4 separate regions of the Homo sapiens genome follow, and regions 1, 3 and 4 are each linked to region 2. Evidence: promoter capture Hi-C in human tissues and cell types (Jung and others, 2019). All regions are on one chromosome and are shown on one strand. Each heading gives the region's core, a stretch centred on a gene start or on the middle of the fragment in contact. The rest is flanking DNA. Distances are from core to core; before and after follow the strand shown. Region 1 holds the start of SPN (sialophorin). Region 2 holds the start of TBC1D10B (TBC1 domain family member 10B). Region 3 overlaps FBXL19 (F-box and leucine rich repeat protein 19). Region 4 overlaps BCL7C (BAF chromatin remodeling complex subunit BCL7C).

Evidence for each region. Contacts are between HindIII fragments. The study calls those that stand out against the background at their distance.
Region 1: a contact is called between the fragment with the promoter of SPN here and the fragment with the promoter of TBC1D10B in region 2, in 1 of the 25 tissues and cell types used here (lymphoblastoid cells).
Region 3: a fragment that was not itself captured here is called in contact with the fragment with the promoter of TBC1D10B in region 2 in 1 of the 25 tissues and cell types used here (pancreas).
Region 4: a contact is called between a fragment that was not itself captured here and the fragment with the promoter of TBC1D10B in region 2, in 1 of the 25 tissues and cell types used here (lymphoblastoid cells).

Annotation. Positions count from the first base shown.
Region 1 is chr16:29,661,889-29,664,588 of GRCh38, reverse strand. SPN (sialophorin) reads right to left here and starts at 1,342. Exons shown (of 2, transcript NM_003123.6): 1 at 1,273-1,342; 2 at 1-894. The coding sequence starts at 860. RefSeq lists silencers at 238-357, 1,618-1,677 and enhancers at 1,858-1,937, 2,578-2,627. The HindIII fragment of the contact is 34,536 bases long and covers 1-2,700 here.
Region 2 is chr16:30,369,175-30,371,874 of GRCh38, reverse strand. TBC1D10B (TBC1 domain family member 10B) reads left to right here and starts at 1,381. Exons shown (of 9, transcript NM_015527.4): 1 at 1,381-2,647. The coding sequence starts at 1,692. It also overlaps a transcript of MYL11 not described here. RefSeq lists silencers at 1,496-1,785, 1,876-1,955. The HindIII fragment of the contact is 6,682 bases long and covers 1-2,700 here.
Region 3 is chr16:30,940,188-30,943,163 of GRCh38, reverse strand. FBXL19 (F-box and leucine rich repeat protein 19) reads right to left here. Exons shown (of 11, transcript NM_001382779.1): 8 at 885-1,048; 9 at 628-789. Among named protein-coding and RNA genes, the nearest start is that of ORAI3, 7.4 kb to the left of the region's middle. RefSeq lists an enhancer at 1-600 and a silencer at 1,025-1,154. The HindIII fragment of the contact is 5,049 bases long and covers 1-2,976 here.
Region 4 is chr16:30,887,677-30,890,453 of GRCh38, reverse strand. BCL7C (BAF chromatin remodeling complex subunit BCL7C) reads left to right here. Exons shown (of 6, transcript NM_004765.4): 5 at 1,509-1,594; 6 at 2,464-2,659. The coding sequence ends at 2,589. All of the region lies in intron 2 of MIR762HG (MIR762 host gene), which reads right to left. Among named protein-coding and RNA genes, the nearest start is that of MIR762, 4.8 kb to the left of the region's middle. RefSeq lists an enhancer at 2,497-2,777. The HindIII fragment of the contact is 5,651 bases long and covers 1-2,777 here.

The DNA of each region.
Region 1 (2,700 bases), core at 93-2,592, 710 kb after region 2:
GCCCCAGTCCGCCGCTTCTGCCGCCGGCGCCACAGCAGGAGCAGAGCCACGAGGACTATGACCGCCAGCAGGGCCACAAGCACAGCCACTGGCAGCATGCCTCGTGAGTTCTCATCTGGGTTCCGGAAGGGCACAGTGCTTGCGTTGGTGGAGGTCGTTGGAGACATCATTGTAGATAGTTTTACGCTAGAGACCTGGGGTCCACTGGCCCCGCTGGAGGGCTCCAGAGAGCCAGTTGTCATGGTAACAGGGGGTCCAGTGGTCCCAGTGGAGGTCTCCAGAGAGTCAGTTGCCATGGTAACAGGGGGTCCAGAGGTGCCTTTGGAAGTCTCCAGAGAGACAGTTGCCATGGTAAGAGGGGGTCCAGAGGTGCCTCTGGAGGTCTCCAGAGAGCTAGCTGCCGTGGTAACAGGGGCTCCACTGGTCCTACTGGAGGTTTCTGGAGAGTTCGTTGTTATGGTTCCACCTGTCACGGTGTGGGATCCTAGAGAGTTTGCTGTTATGGGAACAGCAGGATGACTGGTTGCATGAGGGGTTTCCTGGGGCACTGATGACATCTTGATGGAAACTTCCTGGTAGGTTGTTGGCTCAGGTAAAGGGGAACCAGTGCTGGCACCAATGGAAGTCCAAAGAGGGGATCCCTCATTGATGGAAGTTGAGGGAGGTAGGGCTGAGGTCTGGTCCCCAGTGCTGTCGGCCTTAGGGTCACTTGTTATTGAAGTGGTGTACATCTTTGAGCTCAGGGGCTCGCTAGTAGAGACCAAAGGCTCTCCGGAGGTGGGTGTCTGCACTGCTGTTGTGCTCCCCAGAGCGTCTGGGCTTACCACCAGCACCCCAAGGAGAAGGAGAAGCGTGGCCATTTCCAGGCAAACAGGCAGGAGCAAGAGCTGGGACCTGCAGGTGGGCAGCCGGAGAAGCAGAACACGCGGGAGTTGCCGGAGGACCTGGCCGGGCCTCCCCTCTGCCCACTTCCCTGCCAACGGCCAGGCCCAACCTGCGGTTTAACGGTTTTTTCCATGCTGGCTTTTACTGTTATCAGAAATGACAGAGGAACAGATGCTGGCAGCTCCCCCATCAGCCCCATCCTGAGGCTCCCTCCAGCCTCAGCAGCTTAGATTCCAGCAGTGACCAGCCCCTCCTGGCCTTCCCTGACCCTGTGCAGCCCAATGGCTCCCAATCTCTTCCCATCATAACCTGTCAGAGTCTTTTCAAGCCACAGGCACATTCCCAGGCCCACTGAGGCCCCTACCCCACCAAGTCTCACCCTCTTACCGGCTCGGCTGATAAGGACGCAGCACTGGGGCCAGGTCACTCCACCACCTCCCGAGGCTGGGGCAAGACTGGGAAGGACAGGGCCCCAAGGGGAAAGGAAGTGGGCCCTGGCTCCACCCACCCCACCCACCCCTCCATCCTGCCCCACCCGCCTGCTCCCACAGCTGCTGGGCGAAGACAGCACCATCACCTGCTCCTTCAGGGGCCAGCGGGGTGCCTGGGGGTCTGGGGCTCACCTGAGGGAGGCAGGGAAGCGTGGGATCTGGAATCAGGATTCCTGGCTCTTGGCTGAGGAATGGGATGGAAGTGGTGATGCTAGGGAGGGCTGGGCTCAGAGGTGGGTGGTGGGAATGTGAGCCTGAGAACTCAAGGGTGCAGAGGAGGAGGTGGGAGGGGAGGGTGGTTTCCTTTGCATTTGTGGTCCCCAAGCTGTTAGGCCAGGAGCTGAGTGGCGCCATTTCCTGCCCTCAGAGCTCCCAGGAAGTAGCAGGGCAAGAGGAAGCCCCCGAGTCTGGCTGGGGGCCGTGAAAACCTTTGCAGGCTGGTGAGCTCTTGACTCTGTCCGGGGAGCTGGGGGTCACCACAGTGGCCCCCAGTCACAGAGACGTGGCTAAACCAAGGTGGTTCCTACACACTGCATATGCTAGGATCTTATTTCTGCAAACTAGTAAAGATGTGGGAATCTTTTTTTTTTTTTTTAAGGCGGAGTTTAGTGCAATGGCATGATCTTGGCTCGGCTCAGCACAATGTCTGCCTCCTAGGTTCAAGCAATTCTCCTGCCTCGGCCTCCTGAGTAGCTGGGATTACAGGCTTGCACCACTGTGCCCGGCTAATTTTGTATTTTTCGTAGAGACGAGGTTTCTCCATGTTGGTCAGGCTGGTCTCGAACTCCTGACCTCAGGTGGTCCATCCGCCTCAGCCTCCCCAAGCGCTAGGATTACAGGTGTGAGCCACCGCGCCTGGCCAGATATGGGAATCTATATGGAAAACCGTCTGGAAAGATATCTACTAAGGGATTCACCTAATTGTCTTTGGATAGGTGAGAGTAGGAGGTGGGGGTATTTTCTTCTTTGAATGGTTCCCATTTCCTGACTTTCCTCTAATTAGCAAGCTTTGACTCTCGGTTTGTGTATGTTTTTGGTTTTTGTTCTTGAAAAACGAAAATCAGTCCCGGGTGTGGTGATACATTATGCTGGCAGTCCAGGCCAAAGTGGGAGGACCTCCTGAGCCCAAGAGTTTGAAACCAGCCTGGGCAACGTAGCAAAACTCCTATCACTAAAAAAATAAATAATTTTTTAAAATCAAAACTGATTTGTATATTTTAAGAGCAACATGTGCACAATAGAAGATTCTAACAGGCCCGTGGGACTGTGCCATTTCTACAAGCTGATGAGTTTGTCTGACCCAAAGACATGAGACTCCTGGGTG
Region 2 (2,700 bases), core at 132-2,631:
GCTCATAACGTCAGGTCTTTATGCTTGTGATCTAAGGACAACCTGGAGCGCTCATGAGATTGAGGTCGGGATTCTCAGTGGAACATGAGGAGCACAGAGGGATGTGGCAGTGAGGGGAGAGGGGTTGACGGGACTGGGGCCTTGGATCCCCAAAAGAATAGTAACACACATATGGGGAGTTCATGGTATTAGGGATTCATGGATTTGGGGTTTGAGATCCCCACTAGAAGAAATGGAGGGGGTACTCAGAGGGATAAGGTCTGAGGAACTGGAGCCTGGGTTCTGGGGAGGAGCTCAGATAGATGGGAACTGAGGAGAGGGACTTGGAGGTTGGGATTCCCGCAGGAAATGGGTGAAGCAGAGATATGGGTTGCTTATAGGATCTGGGGGCTCTGGCTATTGCCACCTGGGCCTGGAGTGTTGGGGTTAGTTGGGGGCCGAGATCGGAGAATTATAGAGTAAAGGATGAGAGTACTGGGTCAGGGCACTGGATCTGTGGTGGGGCTCAGGGTCCCACAGACCACCAGAGTGTGGGGCTCAGGAGCTGAACGAAGAATAGGGGACCGGAAAGGACTCGAGAGGGGGCAGCGCGGCACTCATTGGTTGAGGGCTGCACTAATGCCCCCGCCCCTTCTCCGTGCTGTCCCCAGCTGTCACCCTCCCATAAGGCTTGTCTCCGGTTGTCACCGACTATCCCTGGGCTGGCACCGCCTGCTGGCAGCATCTTTGCCCTTTGGATGCTCCCATTGGCTGAGACAGCTATCTATTTTCCTGTCCTGTGGCCAAAGTGGGAGAACACGATCATTGGCTGACGGGGCGAATTAATCTCTAGCTTGCCCCGCCTCCTCCCAGCTGTCATTCCTTACTGACCATTTTGGGAGACCTAAAGAATTCTTCAGCTCTTCCTATTGACTGCGGATGCTGTCTGTCACCGCCTAAATAGACATCACTGCCTGTCAATTTGACCTCCACCTGCTCCCCTTTTCATTGGCTCCCTTTTTACCATTCCTATTGGTTAAGAAGCCTCCAGGCCCCACCTCTTACTCGCACAGCCCTGCCTCCTCCTCCGCCCTTCCGCGGTCATTCACCCTTCAGTCATATTCATTGGCCAGGAGGTTCAGACCCCTGCGTTTCTATTGGTTATTTCTTTCGTCCCATCGCCCCCTGCCTTTCCTCGTCCTCTGATTGGTCTTACAGCCCTAGCTTTCTCCGTTTCCTCTTTCCAGATGACCCACCCCTTTTTCGCCTCCAGCCCCGCCCACGATTCCAACGATTGGCAGAAGCCCAGTTCTCTCTCTCCCACTATTCGTCCAAATCCTCTGACTAGGCGGGAGAAAAAAGGAGCGCGATGAGCCAGTCCGCGCGCAGGCGTGGAACGCCGAGACGCTGGCGCGGAGCCGGCTCTGCGGCGTGTGCGCAGGCGCGAGGTCGGCGGCTCGCCCCCAAGCAGGAGGGAGGGGGCGGTGGCGAGAGCGCGCGAGGGGGTGAGAGGGCTCGAGAGAGACCCCGGCGCGCGGCGCCCCCCGACCCCTGCCCCGCCTCTGCGCGCCCAGCGGCCGCTCCGCCCCCGGCGCGCGCCGAGCCGCGCCCTTCGCCCTCTCCCCTTTCTCGGCTGGCCTCGCCGGGAGGCCCGAGGGGCGGCGCCTTCTGCGGCCTCCCCGGCGGGGGGATGTGAGGGGCGGCCCGCGGCCATGGAGACGGGCACGGCGCCCCTGGTGGCCCCGCCGCGCCGTCATGGCGCCCCCGCGGCCCCCTCGCCGCCGCCCCGGGGTTCCCGGGCCGGGCCCGTCGTGGTGGTGGCTCCGGGACCTCCAGTGACTACGGCCACTTCGGCCCCCGTCACCCTGGTGGCCCCCGGGGAGGCGCGGCCCGCCTGGGTCCCGGGGTCGGCCGAGACCTCTGCTCCGGCCCCGGCCCCAGCCCCGGCCCCAGCCCCGGCTGTCACGGGCAGCACGGTGGTGGTGCTGACCCTGGAGGCCTCGCCCGAAGCCCCAAAGCCGCAGCTCCCCTCCGGCCCGGAATCCCCAGAGCCCGCGGCAGTGGCTGGAGTTGAGACATCGAGGGCTCTGGCCGCAGGGGCAGACTCGCCGAAGACAGAGGAGGCTCGACCCTCACCCGCCCCAGGACCAGGGACCCCCACCGGGACCCCTACCAGGACCCCTTCCAGAACGGCTCCTGGTGCCCTGACCGCCAAACCCCCGCTTGCCCCCAAGCCGGGAACCACAGTGGCCTCAGGAGTGACTGCACGGAGTGCATCAGGACAAGTGACAGGTGGGCATGGAGCTGCCGCAGCAACATCAGCATCAGCAGGACAGGCTCCTGAGGACCCCTCAGGCCCTGGCACAGGCCCCTCTGGGACTTGTGAGGCTCCGGTAGCTGTCGTGACCGTGACCCCAGCTCCGGAGCCTGCTGAAAACTCTCAAGACCTGGGCTCCACGTCCAGCCTGGGACCTGGCATCTCTGGGCCTCGAGGGCAGGCCCCGGACACGCTGAGTTACTTGGACTCCGTGAGCCTCATGTCTGGGACCTTGGAGTCCTTGGCGGATGATGTGAGCTCCATGGGCTCAGATTCAGAGATAAACGGGCTGGCCCTGCGCAAGACGGACAAGTATGGCTTCCTTGGGGGCAGCCAGTACTCGGGCAGCCTGTGAGTACCAGTGGGCACCCAGCGGGACCGCCTCGGGGAAGCAAAGGTTGGGG
Region 3 (2,976 bases), core at 289-2,788, 570 kb before region 2:
CAAATCTCCTTTTGAAAATCTTTCCTCAAACTAGACCTCTCCCATCCTGATTGCTCATTCAAGTTATTCATTCAACAGCTATCTATGGAGCAGCCACTGAGAACGTGCTGGGGGACCAGCCAGCGCTTGCCCTCAGGGAGCTGGAGACCCTGGCAGGAGGGCACAGATGTGCATCAAGGCACTCCACAATTGCCCAGTATTATGCTGGCGGGCTGCTCTCAAAGCTGAGAGGGACTCTGAGCTCAATGTGGGGTGGGATCAGGGAGAGCTTCTTGGAGGAAGTGGCATTTATACCCAGGCCTAAAGGATGATGAGATTTAAGTAGATGAAGAGAGATGGCCTCTGCTCCCAGCATCCCCCTCTGCCAATATGGGCCTCCTGCCCCACCAAACTGCTGAGTCTCACACTCCCTGGGAAAACCCTGTTCCTTTCAAGACTCAGTTCAAAGTACACAGCAGGTGGGTGAATGAATGAATAATGCCCAACCAGGGCCTTCCTATTCAAACTCATGTATTCTTTCCTTTCTTCAAATACTTTACCATCCAGCATGAGTCAGAAGAGACCTGAGAGGCCTCCTACCCTACCCTTGCCCAGCCCATTCTCCAGAAAAGCAAACAGAGGTTGCACCTGGTTTGGTGTCTGGTGGAGGCAGCAGCAACTCCCGGAGCTGGGAGTCTTTAACATCCTCGATCCAGCGGAGGTCCAGGAGCCGCAGGGCTGGCAGTGGGGCTGAGCCCAGGGCAGAGACAGAGAGCCAGGAGCAGCCAGAGAGCACCAGCTCCTGCAGGCCTGCGGAGAGGGGGCAGTCAGGAAGCAGGTGCTGTGAGGACTCCATCCCAGGCCTGTCCCTGTCCCCACCCTGTCCTCCGTACCACACACCCTACCTTGTAGTCGGTTCAGAAGCCACATGAGCTGCTTCTTGGAGACACCTGTCCAGCTGAGGTCCAGGGCACGGGGCTGGCGGCGAACCACACCACTGAGCATGGGCGGGGTCAGTGACTTCCGCCGGCTCAGGTCCATTCGAGGCCACAGACGCTTGTCATAGCACCTGGCGGCCATAGGGGGGAGACAGAGACCTCAGCCCTCAGCTCTCAGCAGCCCACAGTTCCCAGGCTCCCCAGCTCCAAGGGTGCACCCCAGCTCTCTTCTGGCCACACAGACAACAGGGTAGCAAGAAGCACCTGACCTCAGCCAAGAGCACTGGGATTGGAACCCAACTCCATCACTAACTGGAAATGAGACCCTGGGCAAGTCTGTTCCTCTCCCTGAGCCTCAGAAGCCTCGTTTATGATTGAAGGCAATAGCCCCCCCACTCTGCCTGCCCACAGGGCAGCTGTCAGGTCACATGGGCTCATCCCAGCTGTGGGCCTCCCAGCATAGAAAGTGTGCTGCCCAACACATACACAAATGCCACGCATGCTGCCTGATGTCATGCCAAGGGGACTGGTGTTATCCAGTCGTCTCCAGCCACCCTTGGGCTTCTTGATTCCTGACTGAGTTCTGGTGCTCATGGGTCCTTGCCTCCTTTACTCATCTCTGCTTCTGATCCACACCTGTCCCATCTTGACAGCCAGCTGCCCGCAGCTGGACTTACAGCCCTAATATCTTCCCTATTACATTACTGTGTTCCTCCAACTACAATGTAAATTCCACAAGGGCAGATTTGCGTTTTCCACTTTTTGAAAAAAAATTTTTTTTGAGACAGGGTCTCACTCTGTAACCCAGGCTGGACTCAGGCTCACCGCAGCCTCAACCTACTGGGCTCAAGCAATCCTCCCACCTCAGCCTCCTGAGTAGCTGGGACCACAGGCACATGTCACCACGCCTGGCTAATTTTTAAACAATTTTTTTGTAGAGACAGGGTCTCACTATGTTGCCTAGGCTGGTCTTGATCTCCTGGCCTCAAGCGATCCTCCTGCCTTGGCCTCCCAAAACACTGGGATTACAGGCATGAGCTACTGCACCCAGCTGCCCATTTGTAATGAATGAATCAAGCTAGTAACTACTTAAAGCTTCCACTGACCACTCTCCCCCACCTCCTCATCTACAGCATTTCATTTATTCACTCTGATTATAGAAAGCGTTATAGGTCCCAAGTATTGAAGCTACAAAGATGAACGAGTCCTAAGCAACATTAAACAGGTTTCCTAACCCGAGCACTCCACAGGCCTCAACAGACTATCTAACATGCAGTGGGCTGGGTGCAGTGGCTCACACCTGTAATCCCAGCACTTTGGGAGGCCGAGGTGGGTGGATCATGAGGTCAGGAATTCGAGAACAGCCTGGCTGTTCTACTAGTGAAACCCTGTCTCTACTAAAAGTACAAAAAATTAGCTGGGCATGGTGGCGGGCGCCTGTAATCCTAGCTACTCGGGAGGCTGAGGCAGGAGAATTACTTGAACCCGGGAGGCGGAGATTGCAGCGAGCCGAGATCGCACCACTGCACACCAGCTGGGGCAACAGTGAGAGACTCCATCTCAAAAACAAACAAACAAACAAACAAACAAAAAACATGCAGTGAACTGGAGAAGGGCCTCTCAAACGTACTTCCCCAGGAATCCTTCCCCACCTCTCCCAAGGTAATCTAGTAACATTTTGTAGTACACTGAAGTTCCTTTGGACTCAGTTTGAGAACTCTCTTCTCTGAGTTCAGTAGTTCTCAAAGGCATGTCCAGAAATGCCTCTGAGACTCAATAGACTGTGTCAGAAGCAGCAGGCCCAGGAAGCTTTTTTTTTTTTTTCTTGAGACAGTGTCTTGCTTAGTCACCCAGGCTGGGGTGCAGTACTGCGATCACAGCTCACTGCAACCTTAAACTCCTGGGCTCAAGCCATCCTCCTACCTCAGCCTCCTGAGTAGCTGGGACTACAGGCACATGCCACCACACCTGACTTTTTTTTTTTTTTTGAGACAGAGTTTCGCTCTTGTTGCCCAGGCTGGAGTGCAATGGTGTGATCTTGGCTCACTGAAACCACCAT
Region 4 (2,777 bases), core at 250-2,749, 520 kb before region 2:
GCCAGTGAGCCAGCATCTTGGGCCTGTGTCCTCATCAGCTCTGCTTTTTTTTTTTCCTTTGAGATGGAGTCTCACTCTGTCACCTAGGCTGGAGTGCAGTGGCACGATCTTGCTCACTGCAACCTCCGCCTCCCAAGTTCAAGCAATTCTCCTGCCTCAGCCTCCTGAGTAGCTGGGATTACAGGCTGCACAACACCACACCCGGCTAATTTTTGTATTTTTAGTAGAGACGGGGTTTCATCATGTTGGTCAGGATGGTCTTGAACTCCTGACCTCGTGATCCACCTGCCTCGGCCTCCCAAAGTGCTGGGATTACAGGCTTGAGCCACCGTGCCCAGCCAGCTCTGCTTTCTTCCATGCAGTCAAACCCGTCTGATTGGCACCTCTTCCTCCTAGGCTCCCTGTCCCTGGCCTTCCCATTTCTCACCCGTTTTTGGTTCCAGCTGGTCTCTTCTAGTCACCTCCACACAGCTGCCAGAACAACTTTTTCCTTCATTTTTTAAGCTTTGCTTTTTTTTTTTTTTTTTTGAGACAAGGTCTCACTCTGTCGCCCAGGCTGGAATGCAGAGGCGTGATCACGGCTCACTGCAGCCTTGGATTCCTGGGCTCAGTCAGCCTCCTGAGTAGCTGGGACTACAGGCATGCATCACCATGCTCAGCTAATTAGTGTTGTTATTCTTTATAGAGACAGGGTCTTACTATGTTGCCCAGGCTGGTTTCAAACTCCTAGGCTCAAGCGATCCTTCTGCCTCAGCCTCCCAGAATGTGAAACCCTGTCTCTACTAAAAATACAAAAAATCAGCGGGACGTGGTGGCACATGCCTGTAATCCAGCTATTAGGGAGGCTGAGGCAGGAGAATCACTTGAACCTGGGAGGCGGAGGTTGCAGTGAGCCGAGATCGCGCCACTGCACTCCAGCCTGGGGGACACAGCGAGACTCTGTCTCAAAAACTAAAACAAACAAACACACAAAAAGAAAACCCTGATGTGGGCCTGTGGACTGGGTCTGGGTCTAGACAGTGCCAAGCAGTTGTATACCTTTGCTAATATAAAAATGGTAGCAAGCATTTATTGAGCACTTACTGTGTGCCAGCCACTGTGCTTTACCTGCATCCGCTCATCTGACCCTCACAACAGCCACATGAGGTAATTACTATCATTATCCCCATTTTACAGATGGGGAAACTGAGGCCCATGGAAATGAAGTAGCTGGCCCAAGGTCAGGATTTGAACCCAGGCAGTCCAAGCCCAGAATCTGTGGCAACTTAGCATGCATTCCCTCTGTCTCACGTGTCATACTTTCCTGTCCACCGCATCACCCTCGAGCTCCCACATCAGTGTTCCCTCCTCTGCTTCCTGGGGCACAGCCAGGTTCCTGCTCTCTCCTCTCTGCTCCCATGGCCCTCTGCCCTCTGTGACTGGGGCCTGTGACCATCTGTTTCCCCCACTGTCTGTGCTGCTGGCACAGAGTGGCTGTTCAGGGGATGTTTGTTACCTTGACGTTCCAGATCCCGGGGGCATAACTGCTGGCAGCACCGACGAACCCCCAATGCTGACCAAGGAGGAGCCTGTTCCAGAACTGCTGGAAGCTGAGGTGAGAGAGGCCAGAAGGCTGGACTCCTGGGTCTTGGAGGGAATGGGGGATCTGGGCAGTCGAAGGCTTGGAGCCTGCGTCCTGAGGGCCTGGAGGAGAGGCAGACCTGGGACAGAGCTGAAGGCTTAGGGGCTGGGTTCTTGGGACTGAAAAAGAAAGGGTGTTTCAGAGACAAAGTGCTGAGGGCTGGATCAGGGCTGATTGAGACCATTAAAAGCCTGACAAAGCTGGGCGTGGTGGCTCACGCCTGTAATCCCAGCACTTTGGGAGGCGGAGGCGGGTGGATCATGAGGTCAGGAGATCGAGACCATCCTGGCTAACACGGTGAAACCCCGTCTCTACTAAAAATACAAAAATTAGCCGGGCGTGGTGGCACGTGCCTGTAGTCCCAGCTACTCGGGAGGCTAAGGCAGGAGAATTGCTTGAACCCGGGAGGCGGAGGCTGCAGTGAGCCAGGATCGCGCCACTGTACTCCAGCCTGGGTGACAGAGCGAGACTCCTTCTCAAAAATAAATAAATAAATAAAGCCTGACAAAATCATGGCGCTCCTCCATGCATTTTCAAAAAATATCAAAAAATATCTAACTGTATAATTAGCATAAGAAAATTCCTTATAAACCTCTGACATTTCTCACGAGGCTACCTCGAGGCATTTTCAGAAATATCAAATATCAGGTTCGTTCCTCCACACAGTGTCACTGTCGTTGTTGTTTTTGGTGCCTGCTTCCTCTGCATCCTGGGCATCTGGCCCTGGGCTTGCCTCCCGGGCCCAGGAGGGGAGGGGAGTGGAGGCTTTGGAGAAGGCAGAGGCTCAGAGGCTGGACGCCTGGGTTCTGTGGAGCTCACGCCTGTCCACCCTTCCTCTCCAGGCCCCCGAAGCTTACCCTGTCTTTGAGCCAGTGCCACCTGTCCCTGAGGCAGCCCAGGGTGACACAGAGGACTCGGAGGGTGCCCCCCCACTCAAGCGCATCTGCCCAAATGCCCCTGACCCCTGAGAAGCCGGCCTGCCTGTCCTGTTGCCCCAGGGGCCCCTTTGGCTTTTTACAAATAAAGACCCTTTTGTAATTTTGTGTCATGTCATTTCCCCGTCAGGGCTGGGGAGGGTCTTTGGAGACAGTTTTGTCTCATGCACCATTGCTCAGATGTGGTCACTGAGGCTCTGAGAGGACCTTCCTGTAGTGAC